3 separate regions of the Homo sapiens genome follow, and all the other regions are linked to region 1. Evidence: promoter capture Hi-C in 16 types of primary human blood cells and fetal thymus (Javierre and others, 2016). All regions are on one chromosome and are shown on one strand. The core of a region is centred on a gene start or on the middle of the fragment in contact, and the rest is flanking DNA. Distances in the headings are between cores, read along the strand shown.

The links. The method cuts DNA at HindIII sites, captures the fragments that hold promoters and counts their contacts. A CHiCAGO score of 5 or more calls a contact.
Region 2: a contact is called between a fragment that was not itself captured here and the fragment with the promoter of GPR17 in region 1, in 1 of 17 cell types (total B cells). The highest score is 6.8, in total B cells.
Region 3: the fragment with the promoter of AMMECR1L here is called in contact with the fragment with the promoter of GPR17 in region 1 in 2 of 17 cell types (neutrophils and total CD8 T cells); the score reaches 6.2 in neutrophils.

What each region holds. Positions count from the first base shown.
Region 1 is chr2:127,644,674-127,649,120 of GRCh38, forward strand. GPR17 (G protein-coupled receptor 17) reads left to right here and starts at 1,480. Exons shown (of 2, transcript NM_001161417.2): 1 at 1,480-1,571. The region is part of intron 4 of LIMS2 (LIM zinc finger domain containing 2); the gene reads right to left. RefSeq lists an enhancer at 4,287-4,447. The HindIII fragment of the contact is 22,539 bases long and covers 1-4,447 here.
Region 2 is chr2:127,502,635-127,507,451 of GRCh38, forward strand. IWS1 (interacts with SUPT6H, CTD assembly factor 1) reads right to left here. Exons shown (of 14, transcript NM_017969.3): 3 at 2,050-3,118; 4 at 753-942; 5 at 181-238. Among named protein-coding and RNA genes, the nearest start is that of IWS1, 21 kb to the right of the region's middle. The HindIII fragment of the contact is 288 bases long and covers 1,594-1,881 here.
Region 3 is chr2:127,882,823-127,887,283 of GRCh38, forward strand. AMMECR1L (AMMECR1 like) reads right to left here and starts at 3,134. Exons shown (of 8, transcript NM_001199140.2): 1 at 2,988-3,134; 2 at 1,381-1,490. LOC107985944 (a long non-coding RNA gene) reads left to right here and starts at 4,296. Exons shown (of 2, transcript XR_001739707.2): 1 at 4,296-4,461. It also overlaps the pseudogene LOC107985803. RefSeq lists enhancers at 3,005-3,600, 3,385-3,464, 3,475-3,734 and silencers at 3,025-3,074, 3,085-3,254, 3,965-4,014. The HindIII fragment of the contact is 4,247 bases long and covers 236-4,461 here.

The sequences.
Region 1 (4,447 bases), core at 230-2,729:
AACGCCTCAAAACTCCATCACCACGGTCAATGCCCTTGAAGCCATCGACAGTGATCACCCCAATAACAGAAGGTCTGTGAGCCCAGAAATGCCCTGCTCAGGGTGGTTAGCTTCAAGCCACCACCTTTCCAACCAGCCTGGGCCAGTTCTTCCAGACAGCCGCCTGCGGGCACAACAGGAAAGAGACCTGCGCCCCGGCTCAGACACCTCACACCCAGCTGGCTCTCAGGCCAGACAAACTGGGAAGCCCATCTCTCTTGAAGGAAGTCCAGATGGGAAACAGCTTCTCAACAGACCAGATCACAGCATCAGATCTAAAGGTGGCCTTCAGAATTCTTTTTCAGGTTGAATTAGGATCAAATCTAAGAATTCTAAATTCAAAATGCAGCAGAAAAACAAAACACACACACACACGGAGCCTAAGTTCTGGAGTGACATGTGCTTGGGTTCAAATCCTGGCTCTGTTGCTTCCTACTGTTTGTTGATGGGTGAGTTTCTTCATTTGCCTGAGCCTCAGTTTCCTTGTCTGTAAAATGGGGCAATAATCCCAGCTGCACAGGGTGATGTGAAGAGACAAATTTAAGACACTGCCCCTTAAATGCTAGCCACATACATACAGTTTTCAATGTTTAAACAACAAAATGTAAAGTCTTTTGAAACCAGGAAGGGTGATTTGGTTTCCCATGTTGCTGGATGTATCATTTTCAGAAAGACAGAGAGAAATGAACTTTGTTCACTCAGTCTCAGAGGCGGCCGCCGGCAGCATTCAAAGGCACCCCAGCCCGGAGCCACCCCAGGGAGGAGCCCCAGGCCAGCGGTCAGATTCATGGGCTTCCGTGCAGAAGGGGAGCTGCACCGGCGAGCACCCGGCCTCTGAGCTGAGCCGCATCCTCACGGACAGGACAGCGCCCCATTATGAGGCTCCTGCAGCTGTTCCTCGCTCCAGATAAAGGCCATGATTTATTCTGTGTGCCCAAATGGGGCCTCATTATACAGGGCAGGACACAAGGACCCTACAGCAAGTGTCCTCAAAGAGTCGCCTCTCACTCCGTGAGCAAGACTCCTCGGCCTCCCACCCTCCGTTCACAGGCCCCCTCCGCCGTCTGCGGGCGCAGGCCTGGGAGCGCCGCCTGTTGCCATGACAGCCGGCCCCTCCCTGCCCCCCATCAGTAGGAAATCATCCCCTTCTGAAACGTCCTGTTGTGTCCCTCAGCTCCAGCCCAAGCCCCCCACCCAGCCCCCGCCTGCTCTGAGTCTCTGAGACAGTCACACACTCAGACTATGTGGCCAAGCTGGGGGCGGGGGGCATGGGCTAGGGACACACTAGAATATTCACGCTCCGGTGGCAGCAGCAGCAGCAGCCAGAGGAGCAGCCCGACACAACAAGGGACCCCTCAGGAATGAAGCAGCCTTTCAGGGCCAGAGGGGCTGTGGTCTCCCTTCCTCTCCTTAAATAGCCAGCGTTCCACCCACAGCGGCAAGGAGCCCCCTGCCACCACCGACACCCACGGGCGGAGATCACCTGCTGCCCCGCAGACCCCTGTCCCTTCCTCCCGGACCAGCAGCTAGAGGTAAGGGGCAGGCTGGGTGGGGTGGACTGGGAGCCCAGGGCTAAGCAGAGGAAACACTCAGCGGGGAGCCCTGCCCAGGGAGACAGGCAGCAGCCTGTCTCGTCCCATCTCTTTGGTGATGGTCTGACCTGTGCATCGAAGGCTGACCACAGTCTGAATTCACAGCAGCCCACAAAGCGGTGTTTCGTCCCTCTGATGGGGGCTTGCAGAGGGGAAGTGGCTTGCCGGCAGTCCAGGCTGCAATGACAGCACCGCTGCCCCTAACCATTAGGCAGCCTTGACCCATAGAGGAGCCAGATGCCTGGGAGAGGGCTCGGGCCAGGGATGGAGTGGCGCTAATGCAAAGGAAACTGCCACCACCTGGCCATGGCGCTGCCACCACAGGCCCTCCCCGAGGCCACACATGCCCACCTGCCACCTCCACAGAGGCCTATGACCTGTCCTAGATGCTCGACTCACCCACAGCCACGGGACCCAACACTGCCCAGGCCCCGGCCCATGCCACGCCCTTTCCTCTTACGGACACCGGCTCGGTGGCCGTCTGACCAGTGAGTCGTGAGGAACCAGCGAGTCTAGACTGAAGTTTGTGTTTCTAAAGGGCAACAGAGAGTGAAGCGGGGCCCATCTCAGACCAAACTGCAACAATCAGTATCAGAACTCCTCAAACGGGGGACAGAAAGGGAGAAGAAACCTCAGCAAACCTGAAACCAACCAGAAAGCTGTTTAAAATGGAGTCTCAGTCCCAGAGAGAGCGAGGGGCACGCCCTTCGGCCCGGGCAGGAAGTGGAGGGCAGTGCCCAGGCTGAGGCCCCCGGGCTGGAGGCAGGAGGCACCACAGGCCCACCTGGTGCCATGAGATATGCCACCCCTGCCGTCACTCAGGGCCCTGAGCCCAGTAACACTCTGCCGTCACTGTCCTGAAACTCTTCCTTTTTGAGCAAGGGGCTGCACATTCTCATTTCATACATGGGCCCCTAAAATGAGGGAGTGGCCCCAGGGCCAGGAGGGGGTGCTGAGCCTGGGAGACAACTCCATGGCAAACTCTGAGACTGAGTCACACTCCCCACCCTGGCGGTCTTCCAGGGAGTGAGACCGTTTCCCCGGTCTCACTTCCAGCTCCAGGGCCAATGTCCCCTGGTCAAGTGACCTAAGACAAGTTAGCAGACACTCAGCCTTGACTCCCTAACCTGCAACATGGGGCTAAAACTGGTTTGAGCCAGCACAGGCAGGCCCCCACCATGCCAGGCAGAGTGGTCAGTCGTACCTATGAGCTGCTCTCTCGTGGGGCCAGGTGATGCCTGCACTGTGGGGCACAGCACAGGCCTGAGGGACAGCCTGGGGTGGAGGGCACCCACCTTGGCCCCTTCCCACCCCCAGGTTCTAACAAGGGCCCCTCACTCACTGGGCCCCCTCTCCTCTTCCAGTCTCCAGGGCCTCCCCGCACACACCTTCCTCCTCTCCTGCCAACCTGAAAACAGCACACCTGTGTGCCCCTCCCATCTACCATGGGCTGTCCTCTCTGCTTGCCCATGCGTCTGCCCTGGAGCCCTGTTCCTCCAGTCTCCGGGTCCTCACCCCCAGCACATGCAACACGACACCCTCAAAGTCATGGGCCCCCCTCCCCTGCCACCGTCCCACCGGTACCTGCTCCCTGTTCTCCCCTGCCTCACAGGCCCTGTCAAGGGCTGTGTTCCTCCCTCCTTTTACCTCTCCTCCACAGCCCCCTTCACAGCCCTCAGCCCTTCCCCAGGGCTTCAGCCAAGCCTGTCTCCCTCTCCCAAGCATCACTCACCCCGCCTTCTTCGGCCCTCAGCTCTCCGCCCTCACCGTGGTTTTAGCAGTCCTAGGGAAAGTGCCAGCCGAGACCAGCCAGACCAAGTCAGAGTACTGTGGAACCTGGATTCCTGGGGAATGGGGTCCCCATGAGGAACTCCACATTGGACTAAGAACAGACCCTGTTCCTGGAAGCAGCAGGAAACCATCTCTGGTGTTAGAACTTCAGGCATCTTGAAACACTCTGAAGCCGGGGGCAATCTTTTCAGGTAGGGGAACCTGCCTAGAGAAATAGCTAAAAGGTAATATTATTAGGTAGTTGCCCTCCCCTTTGCTTGAGGACATTGATGGCCAGGTGCTCGGGCCAGCCCTCACCCTCCATGTGAGGGCCACAGCAGCTGGCCACTCGCTCTCCTGAAGGAAGGGTGCGGCCCACCCTTCCCTAGGGCTAGGGCCACCACCATGCCTGCTTCTCCTCCATATGAGGATGGCTCCAGCCTCCTCCTCGAGGGGCTGCTGTGTCCATGAACAGTCACCATGCCCTCTCTGCCCCGTGCCACCAGCATCCTGAGACAGCCCTGTGGAATCAGTAAGAGGAGAGGGGCTGGGCGCAGTGACTCATGCCTGTAATCCCAGCACTTTGGGAGGCCAAGGAGCACTTTGGGAGGCCAAGGAGAGAGGATCACTTGAGCCCAGGAGTTTGAGACCAGCCTGGGCAACATGGCAAAACCGTCTCTACCAAAAAATACAAAAATTAGCCGGGTGTGGTGGTGTGCGCCTGTAGTCCCAGCTATTCAGGAGGTTGAGGTGGGAGGATCACTTGAGCCCTGGAGGTTGAGGCTGCAGTGAGCTGATTGCACCACTGCACTCCAGCCTGGGTGACAGAGGGAGACCTTGAAAAAGAGAAAGAAAAAAAGAAAAAAGAGAGGGAGGGGAGGGGAGGGGAGGGGGGGAGGGGAGGGAGGGGAGGGGAGGGAGGGGAGGGGAGGAAGGGGAGGGAGGGAGGAAAGAAAGAAAAAGAAAGAAAGAGAAAAGAAGAAAGGAAGGAAGGAAGGAAAAAGAAAAGAAAAAAAGAAAAAAGAAAAGAAAAAAGGAAAATAAAG
Region 2 (4,817 bases), core at 488-2,987, 140 kb before region 1:
TTTTATGTCTTTGTATATACGCTTTCATTTTACTTCCTGAATCCCTCTTCTAGATTTTTATCTTGAATACATCATAATTGTTTATTCCTACTTATTAGAATCATCTATAATGGTATCACTGCCATAAAAACACCAAAAAAAAGCACAATCAAGGAGGAAATATTTCCATCTTATACTTACTGTAAATTCTTCTTCCTCTTCATCACCAGATTCTCCAAATATGTCTGCAATAAGATTTCTAGAAAGTAGACAAATGTAAAAACATTCATTTGCTTTATCCTCATTTGCATAGGAACCATTTTTTAAAAAATAGAATTTATGTACAGTAAAATGTGCAGATCTTCAGTGTTCAGTTCAATGAGTTTTAACAAATATATACACTCATGTAACCAGCACCCTATACACTCATGTAGCCTCCCCAGAAAGTCCTCTCATGGCCCCTTCTAGCTGGTCCCCAATATCAACATCCTAGAAACAACTGCCACCTTGACTTCCAACACCACAGATAAATTTTGCCTACTGAACTTCATGTAAATGGAATCATATATGTCCTCTTTGCTTTCTTTCACTTAACATGTTAATTCTGAGATGAATTCTGAGATTCACCCACATTGTAGTGTGTTCAGTTCAGGAACTAAAATACTAAATCCCCAAAGACATGCAATTAGGCAGGACATATTGTATTATAACACAGACCCCTCTCTACTGCCTAATTAAGAACCCCTGAAAACTCATGTTATACTGTCACTTACTCTTCTTCATTGCCTGACTCACTGTCACTCCCAAACAGATCCTTCTCTTCATTTTTCTTATCAGACAATTCTTTCCCAGCTTCTTCCTCACTGTCAGATGCTATGGTCTTCTCTCTTTTGCCTGACTTGTCTGATACAGCATCACTGTCAGAGTCATCTGCATCAGAGACAACACGACTCTTCTTTGCTGCTGTTGAAAAAGAAAATCATCATTAATTTTATTTTATCACAGCCATTGTATTACTAAGCATAACAGGTGCTTTAAGATGGCAGTATACAGCAAAAATAAATAAATAAATAAATAAATAAATAAATAAATAAAATAAAATCAGAGGGCCTCCTGACACATGGTTTAGAATTTTTAAAATAACTAAATGGCTCATTCAGAGTCATCTTACAAATTATCTGTTATTTTGCTTAAGAAAAACTGGCCAAAAGATGAAGAAAGATATCATCAATATAAAAGCAGCCACCTTTCCTTTTGGGAAATCGAGAAAATTAAAACTAGATTGATGGGCAAAACTGGCATCCTTTCTATGTTGCCTAGTAGTAACTGAACTAAAAAGGACTACATATTTCTTTCTAGGAATAGTCTCCATGTTCCTCTATCATTGCTGGTCAGTTTGAAATTTCTCATCTCCCTTAACAAATTGACAGCATGTCTGGTACCTTTTCCTTCTCCTATAAGAACTGTGAGGTTATAATGAAATATGTCTTTTCCAAAAAAGATAAGTTTCATAAAAAAGTAGACAAGTAATACTATCTGTGCAAATGGAGTCTTAGATAGCAGAGACTGAAACACTCTGGAGAGAGATGGTGTCTCTAAATAGAATCCTCTCAAAGCTTCCCTGTATCTGAATATTCAACAATGTTTAACAAATGAAGAGATGTACCTGTGGGAGCTGTTACTGTTTGGATGGGATCTAGTGAACTAAGTGTCAAAGAGACCCACAGCTAACAATTAATACAGTTAGGGGTTTTTATGTAAACGTATTTCTTTGAAACATTACCTCTTCCAGTTTTAAAAAAAAAAAACAGTATTTTATATTCCTATTGACATGTGGTTTATCACTTTGAGGCAGTCAGAGATTAATATGTGCTAATAGAACTCCAAGGAAACTTACTATTAAGCTTAGCTAATGATAACCAGGGGAAATGAGTGTCCTACTGATATTTTAGAATATTAAGCTGAATAACAGAACACAGATCTGACATACCAAGAGGATACAATGTTCCACAGTTACAAGCTTAGACAATGAATAAAGCCATTGATAAACAGCCCAAGGTAACTCCTTACATGCTTTCTCTTCATCTTCACTATCAGAAAGCACAGCAGCTTTTCTCTTCGCTACTTTCTCCTCCTCACCCTCTTTTTCATCTTCATCACTGTCCATTTTTTGCTTTTTGTGTTCTTCCTCCTCACTATCAGAACTGTGAAACTTTTTTCTGTCCATATGGCTGTCTGAATGGAAGGAGTCATTCTGCATTTCTGTATCCTCTCCCTTATTCTCCCTGTCGCTGTCATCATCTGACTCTGGCTTCTGTTTGTGTCTGGACGCATCCTCAGTTTCTGAGTCACTGGCAGGCCCCTTCTGAGGCCCCTCACTCTCAGAGTCACTGACTCGGGGTTTGGGTAGCTCCTCATTTTCCGAATCACTGGCCTGGTTCCTTGGGGGATCCTCACTTTCCGAATCACTGATTCGGGGTTTGGGAAGCTCTTCATTTTCTGAGTCACTGGCCTGGTGCCTCGGAGGGTCCTCACTTTCTGAGTCACTGATACGAGGTTTGGGAAGCTCCTCATTTTCAGAGTCACTGGCCTGGTGCCTTGGGGGTTCCTCACTTTCTGAATCACTGACCTGAGGTTTAGGAAGCTCCTCACTTTCAGAATCACTCATTCGAGGTTTGGGAGGCTCCTCATTTTCGGAGTCACTGGCTTGGTGCCTTGGGGGTTCCTCACTCTCAGAGTCACTGATTTGAGGTTTTAGAGCATCTTCTGTTTCAGAGTCACTAGCAGGACTCTTCTGGAGCTCCTCAATCTCAGAATCACTGGCGGGATGCTTCCCAACATCTTCGTTTTCTGAGTCACTTGCATGCCCATTAAGAAGTTCCTCATTTTCAGAGTCACTACCAGGTAATTTCCTGGTCTCTTCACTCTCAGAGTCGCTCCCATGCTGATTGACATCCTCATTTTCAGAATCGCTTGCAGGAGGCTCTGCACGTTCCTCAGATTCAGAGTCGCTGTCCTTTTGCCTGTGAAGCTCCTCACTTTCAGAGTCACTAGCATTAAGATTTAAGGGCTCATCGTTCTCAGAGTCTGTCACATGATGTCCTTTGGGGAGGCCATCTTCTCGATCACTAGTTTCATTCTGAAAAATAAAGTGAGAAAAAATTAGGAAAGTGCAAAAAAAAAAAAACCATTAATAATAAAACATTAAATTTTTTCTGTGATTTTTTTAAAATACAGGATTATGTGCACCTAAATGGAGAATTCTTGTCCTATACCCATATAGAAACACCCCCACAGAAAGCCAATCAGTGAAATGGTTTTATTTGGATCCCCAAATGGGGAAATATAACCAGCCTTCATCAAAACAGATTTGTAAAGCATGCCCTCAGATTACTACAGAAAACTGACCGTGAAGAGCTAGATTTTTTCTTTTTTAAAAGGCGAATTTTCTCATACATACTTCTGTTTTGTAAAAATATAACTCTAGGCTGGACAAGGTGGCTCACACCTTTTGGGAGGCCGAGGTGGTGGATCACCTGAGGTCAGGAGTTCGAGACCAGCCCGGCCAACATGGTGAAACCCTGTCTCTATTAAAAATACAAAAATTAGCTGGGCGTGGTGGTGGACACCTGTAATCCCAGCTACTAGGGAGGCTGAGGCAGGAGAATCACTTGAACCTGGGAGGCGGAGGTTGCAGTGAGCTGAGATTGCACCATCGCACTCCAGCCTGGGTGACAGAGTGAGACTGTCAAAAATAAAAATAAATAAATAAAAATAAATAACTCTATTTTTCAAAGAAATACAAGCAAACATGTAACCAAGTTCTTTTACACAGGAACATTCTTGGGTTTTATAAGGTTAAGATTATTTAAGGGAAAAGAACTATAAAATTTAATTTTATTTAAAGGGTCAAATAACATATGGGCACCTTCTCCCAAGATAATTTAAGCAAACAAAGAAAGGAGAAGTTAACATTTCCTAAGTACCCACTAAGAGCCAATACCACAACAGGCTCTCTCCTGTTAGTTCATTTACTCCTCATAATGGTACTTCTCATGATAACAAAATTGAGGCTTACAGTAGTCACGGTCCTGTGTCTAGTAACCCTAGAAACAAGAAAGCTTAAGTTTTAGGGAGAACATGATTCATCTAACTATACCAACACATAATGTTACTTGAAATAATTACTCTGAAAACATGCCCTGGGGTACAAACTTGATATGTGCATATTATAGCTATGGCTTTAAAATGCAGAGAAAAATATACAAAATTAAACATGCCAAAATACTAACAAGTATTTTAGGATCCGGTGAATTTTTTCTCCCATCTGGTAGCTCAACTTTAAATAACATGGCAATAATATTCTAGCTTAAAAAGTGAAAGTATTTCCGTGTTTGAGTATACCCTCTTAAAAATTTACTGAGCCAAATATTTCTTGTTAGATATATGACTTAAGCTATGTGAACCTACCACAGACCAATTTTCAAGGACCAAAGAGCCTTTAATAATATATATGCCCAACATCATGCTATGAAACAGTTAAGTGACAAGATTATTCTTGTCAATGACAAGATAAATGGCTTGAAAATGTTCTCATAAAACCCAAACTTTTACTAACCCAAGTATGCTGTGTCTACAAATTCAAAAAGAATATGAAAAATTATAAAATAGCCTACAAAGCCAATGTTTGAAGAGTTTTTAAATATTTTATCACCATTATGACAGCACAGCATTGCAAAGAGTCATTGCTATACACAGTCACTGAAATATAGCACATTCAGGTAAGTTTCCAAAATCATACACTTTTCAAAATTCCTAAATACATTTTTCTTGAGTTC
Region 3 (4,461 bases), core at 1,884-4,383, 240 kb after region 1:
ACTTCTGGCTTCAAGCAATCCTCCTGCCTTGGCTTCCCAGTTTTGGGATTTACACAGGCATGAGTGACTGTGCCCAGAATTTTTTTTTTTTTTTTTTTTTTAAAGAGATGAAGTCTTGCTATGCTGCCCAGGCTGAAGTGGCTATTTACAGGGCTCAAGCGATCCTCCTGCCTCAGCTTCTCAAGTTGCTGGGGCTACAGATGCACGCCACCATGCCTGGCAACAATTGTTTTTAAGCTTTATAGATTTTTAAAAACATAAAGAACTGCAAATTTCTTTTCTTTTTTTTTTTTTAGACAGAGTCTCGCTCTGTCGTCAGGCTGGAGTACAGTGGCATGATCTCAGCTCACTGCAACCTCCACCTCCCGGGTTCAAGCGATTCTCCTGCCTCAGCCTCCCAAGTAGCTGAGGACTACAGGCACATGCCACCACACCTGGCTAATTTTTGTATTTTCAGTAGAGACGGGGTTTCACCATGTTGGCCAGGATGTCTTGATCTCTTGACCTCGTTATCCACCTGCCTCGGCCTCCCAAAGTGCTGGGATTACAGGCTTGAGCCACTGCGCCTGGCCAGAACTATACATTTTCATTTCAACTTAGCTTAAAGAAAAACATGTACCTAGGAGTCAAAACTCTTTTCACCTCCCCTCTGTTTTCTATGTGACCTGTAGCAAGGTGCCACATTTTTCTGGGCCTCAGTTCTTTCATTTGTAAAATAAAAACATTTATCCCCTGTGTCCCTCAGAGGGGCTGGGAGGCTTCACCAAGAAGTGAAACACTCTGAAAACTCTCTCCTAAGTGTTAGCATACTATCATTAATCAACTCAAGAGGGCACAGCAGTCATAATTTTTCCCCAGAACTTTGTTTCAAGTTTACAGTGAAAAATTTTAATTATCTTCAAATCTGTGATGGGATTTTCAAGAAAATATCTTCACTATTGCAAATTTAGGACAAAATGTTCCAAAAGTCTCTCAGGACTGAAACTATAGAAAAGAGAACCAATAATTGACTTTGATCAGGAACTGCATTAACCTCTGAGTTAATTACCCTAAAACTTAAGACAACCTCTTTGGTTGTATTGAGAAACTCATTTGGGAAGGGTGAGGAGCCAGACCTTACAAACTAGAAATATAAAGGAAAGATCATGCCACGCCACCACCTAGCTCACTCTAATGGGAGTATGAAAAACAAACTTGCCTTTGCATATTTAAATTATTTTAAAAGGGAACAAGCGGAAAAACTTCATCAACATTAGGACCCCCTCATGGAAGTAGAAAAATACAAATGAAAACACACCTACATCCCAAAATCCTAGCACATGCCTAAAATCAAAAACTACAACGATGCTCTACTCTAAATATGCCCAAGATAATACTCACTGAAAGCAGAAAGTTTGTATTGCCAGAGGAACAGCTACAACAGAGGAGGGGAGCTATTTTGTCTCTGGAATGAATTTTCTTCCTTCCGATTCCATTCCTTCTTCCTGTACCTAAGACGGAAATGCAGGTGCAGTGAACAAACACCCAGGTAGTGCAGAGGTAAGATAGATACGGTTTCTGAAAAATCACAACTCGACAGAGCAATTTCGGGGGGGTGGGGGGCACAGCAAATAGCTAGAGAACAGGCTCTCCTTATTTCAAAACCTTGCAAACTCTAAATCTGAGGCAGCCGTGAAGTCCCATGCCCTGAATCATCTCATCCTTAGCGTCATCAGCAAGAAGGGAGGACACTGAGAATCAAAGGTTTTATTTATTGAACTCGAGCATGAGACGCACATTAAAACTTCCCCACCACAGATGCAGAGCAAAAGTTGCTCTCAGGCCAGAAGAGACCATTTAAAAGCTCTCCGCCGGTTTCAGAACACAAATAAATTTCCCAATCCTCTGCAAAGACAGAACTGAAGAATTACTGGACAGCACGCCAGAGGCAGGGACCTGAGGGCAGGCCATCTTGCTATGCCGGGAGGAGACGGTCACTGTTGCTAAGGGTCATCCATCCTTAGTCTCGAAGAAATCTCTTCCTGATCTCTTCACCAACTCTCCCCACTACTAGAGAATTGAGCTACTCCCAAAGATGTAAGTAAACAGGAGACTGTTTACATCTCCTGTGGGTGGGAGAGGCCCCACCCACTCTATCCTAGGAGAGGGCAGTGAAAGAGGATAAGGCCCAGAGGGATAAGGGTGAGGGAGCATGGCAAGGAGAGGAGTTCAGATCAGGACAGGGAATGTAGGAGGGCAAGGAGTGAAGGGCACAACCCACAGCCTGGGAAAGAGAGGCATGAAACCCAGCGTGTCAGGTGGACGGATCATGGAATGGGGGGCCAGCGGAGGTTAAGGAAGGAGGGCCCAAGAGTAGGGGTGCGAAAAAGAGAAGAGGAGGAGGAGAAAGTGCGCGTGTGAAGAGTGTTAAGAAAACGACAGGACAGAGCGGGGAGGGGAAAAGCGGGCCGAGGGACAGGGTGAAAGGTGAGAAACGAGGGTATGAGGAAAGAGGGTCCGGGGCGCTGGGGAGTTGGGGAGACGATGGAGCGACGGGTAGAGCAGCTTGGGCCGAGCCGCGGGGGTGGAATCCAGACGCCGGGCGGGGGAGGGGGCGGCGGGGCGGCGGGACGGTGGGTGGGGGCCACCAGGCGGCGCCGGAGACCACCAAACTTTACAGCGAGCGAGCCTGCTTCCTGGAGGGAGTGCAGACAAGGACCAGGAGCGGGAGCCGAGCCTCGCGGCCCGGGGCACGGCGCCGCCCGCCCCTCCCCGGCAGTGCCTCCCGACCCCCTGCCCTCCGCTGGGACATGGCCTGAGGCCCCGCCCGCCGCCCGGGACTCCTCCCCCCCGCTGCCCCCGGACCCTCGCCCCAGGACCGCGGGGTCTCTTCCCGGCCCCGCCGCCCGCCCCGGCGAGAACAGGCCCGGCGGGCAAGGCGGCGGCGGACCGAGGGAGGCCTGGCCCGGCAGCGGGGAGAAGGGTGCGGCGCAGCCCGAGTTTCCCACCTTTTCTCCTGGCCCAGACGCGGCTGGGGCGGACGGGACCTCTCGCGCTCTGCCTCCTCCTCTTGCTTCATGGAGCCATGCGCCTGGGTGGGGGCTCCCGAGAGAAGCTGGCCTGCGGGCGGGCCGGACGCGCTGCGCGGACGGGGCGGGGCGAAGGAGGCCGGCGGGCGGAGGAGGAAGCGGCGGGGCGGCGGCGGCGGCGGCGGCCGGGAAGAACTAGAGGTATTCCCCGGGCGGCTGGAGGACTGAGTCGAGCCGGGACCCGAGTCCTCCGGTATCCCAGCAGCCACCGGAGGCAGTGAGGTAATGGAGGAAGAATGTAGGGAGTCCTCCAGTGGACCACACTCCTTCTAGCGAGCCGCGGAAACCATAGAGATCAGGGCTCAGCCGGAGGGCCGGCCCACTGCTGTCACGTGGCCTCCATCCGTGCGCTTTATTGGCTGGTGCTGGCTTTACGGGGTTGAATTTTGGACGCTGCCTGCCATTCGTGGGACCGAGTTTCAGGCAGCTGGAATAAAGAGAGACATCGGGGGAAAGCCGCGAGAAGGCCAGCGTCCCTGGCTGGGAGCAGAGCTAGCCGAGTAGGGCGCCCGGCTGTCAAAACTGGCCGGCGCAGTGCACGCTGGGCCGCCCCGGAGCGGTCGCAGAGCCCGTCGGGAGTCGTAGTCCGGGACGGGCCCGCAGCATTGTCCGCGACGCAGCTCGGGATCCGCGTCGGGTTGTCGGCCGGGTTGCTGCCAGGCACCGTCGAGCGTTAGCCACCCAGCATTGAGCTGCCAGCGGCTGTTCTCCCTAAGCACCCTCGCTCACGTCGCCTCGCCTCGCCTCGCCTGACCGGCCGCAGCCTTGGATACCAGCCTTAAATCGAGCCGACTACGGCCCAGCCCCGCCCGCGGCGAAGTGCGCGGGGTTCGGTGCCAGCCGCTCGCCCCTGGCCGGGCCAGCCTCTTGATGCACCGGGGACGGGCGCGCCCATCCGACTCTTCGAGGGGCGGCAGGGCCCCATCTGTGTCTTTCGCTCTCGAGCCCCCAGCTAGAGTTGGCTTCAGCGGAATACCTACTGTGCAGGATTATTCAACAAGCCGATTGATCACATTCTTCAGCTCTAGCAGTGCAAAGGCTTCACTGAAAAAGAACATTACAAATTTTTTTTGAAAGAAATTTGGGGGTAAATTTAATTTTAAATACTGATTTTTGATAACATTTGATCTTATGACAGCATTTGTATTTTTAATTACAGATAGGATTACACTAAAAGTCATTTCTGACCTGCTCCCTTACCCTTATGGCTAAAATAAACTGCTAGGCCCTGAAGCAAAGGCGAGCCATGTTCTAGAGCAATGTCTTTCTTGTATTAAAATACGGCCCCATGCTCACATATAGGCTGTTTTGTGTTTTGCTTTTCTGTTGATGCACAAAGGAATCCTTGATATGTTTGTCCTCAAAGACCAAAGACAAGTATCTAGTAAAAAAT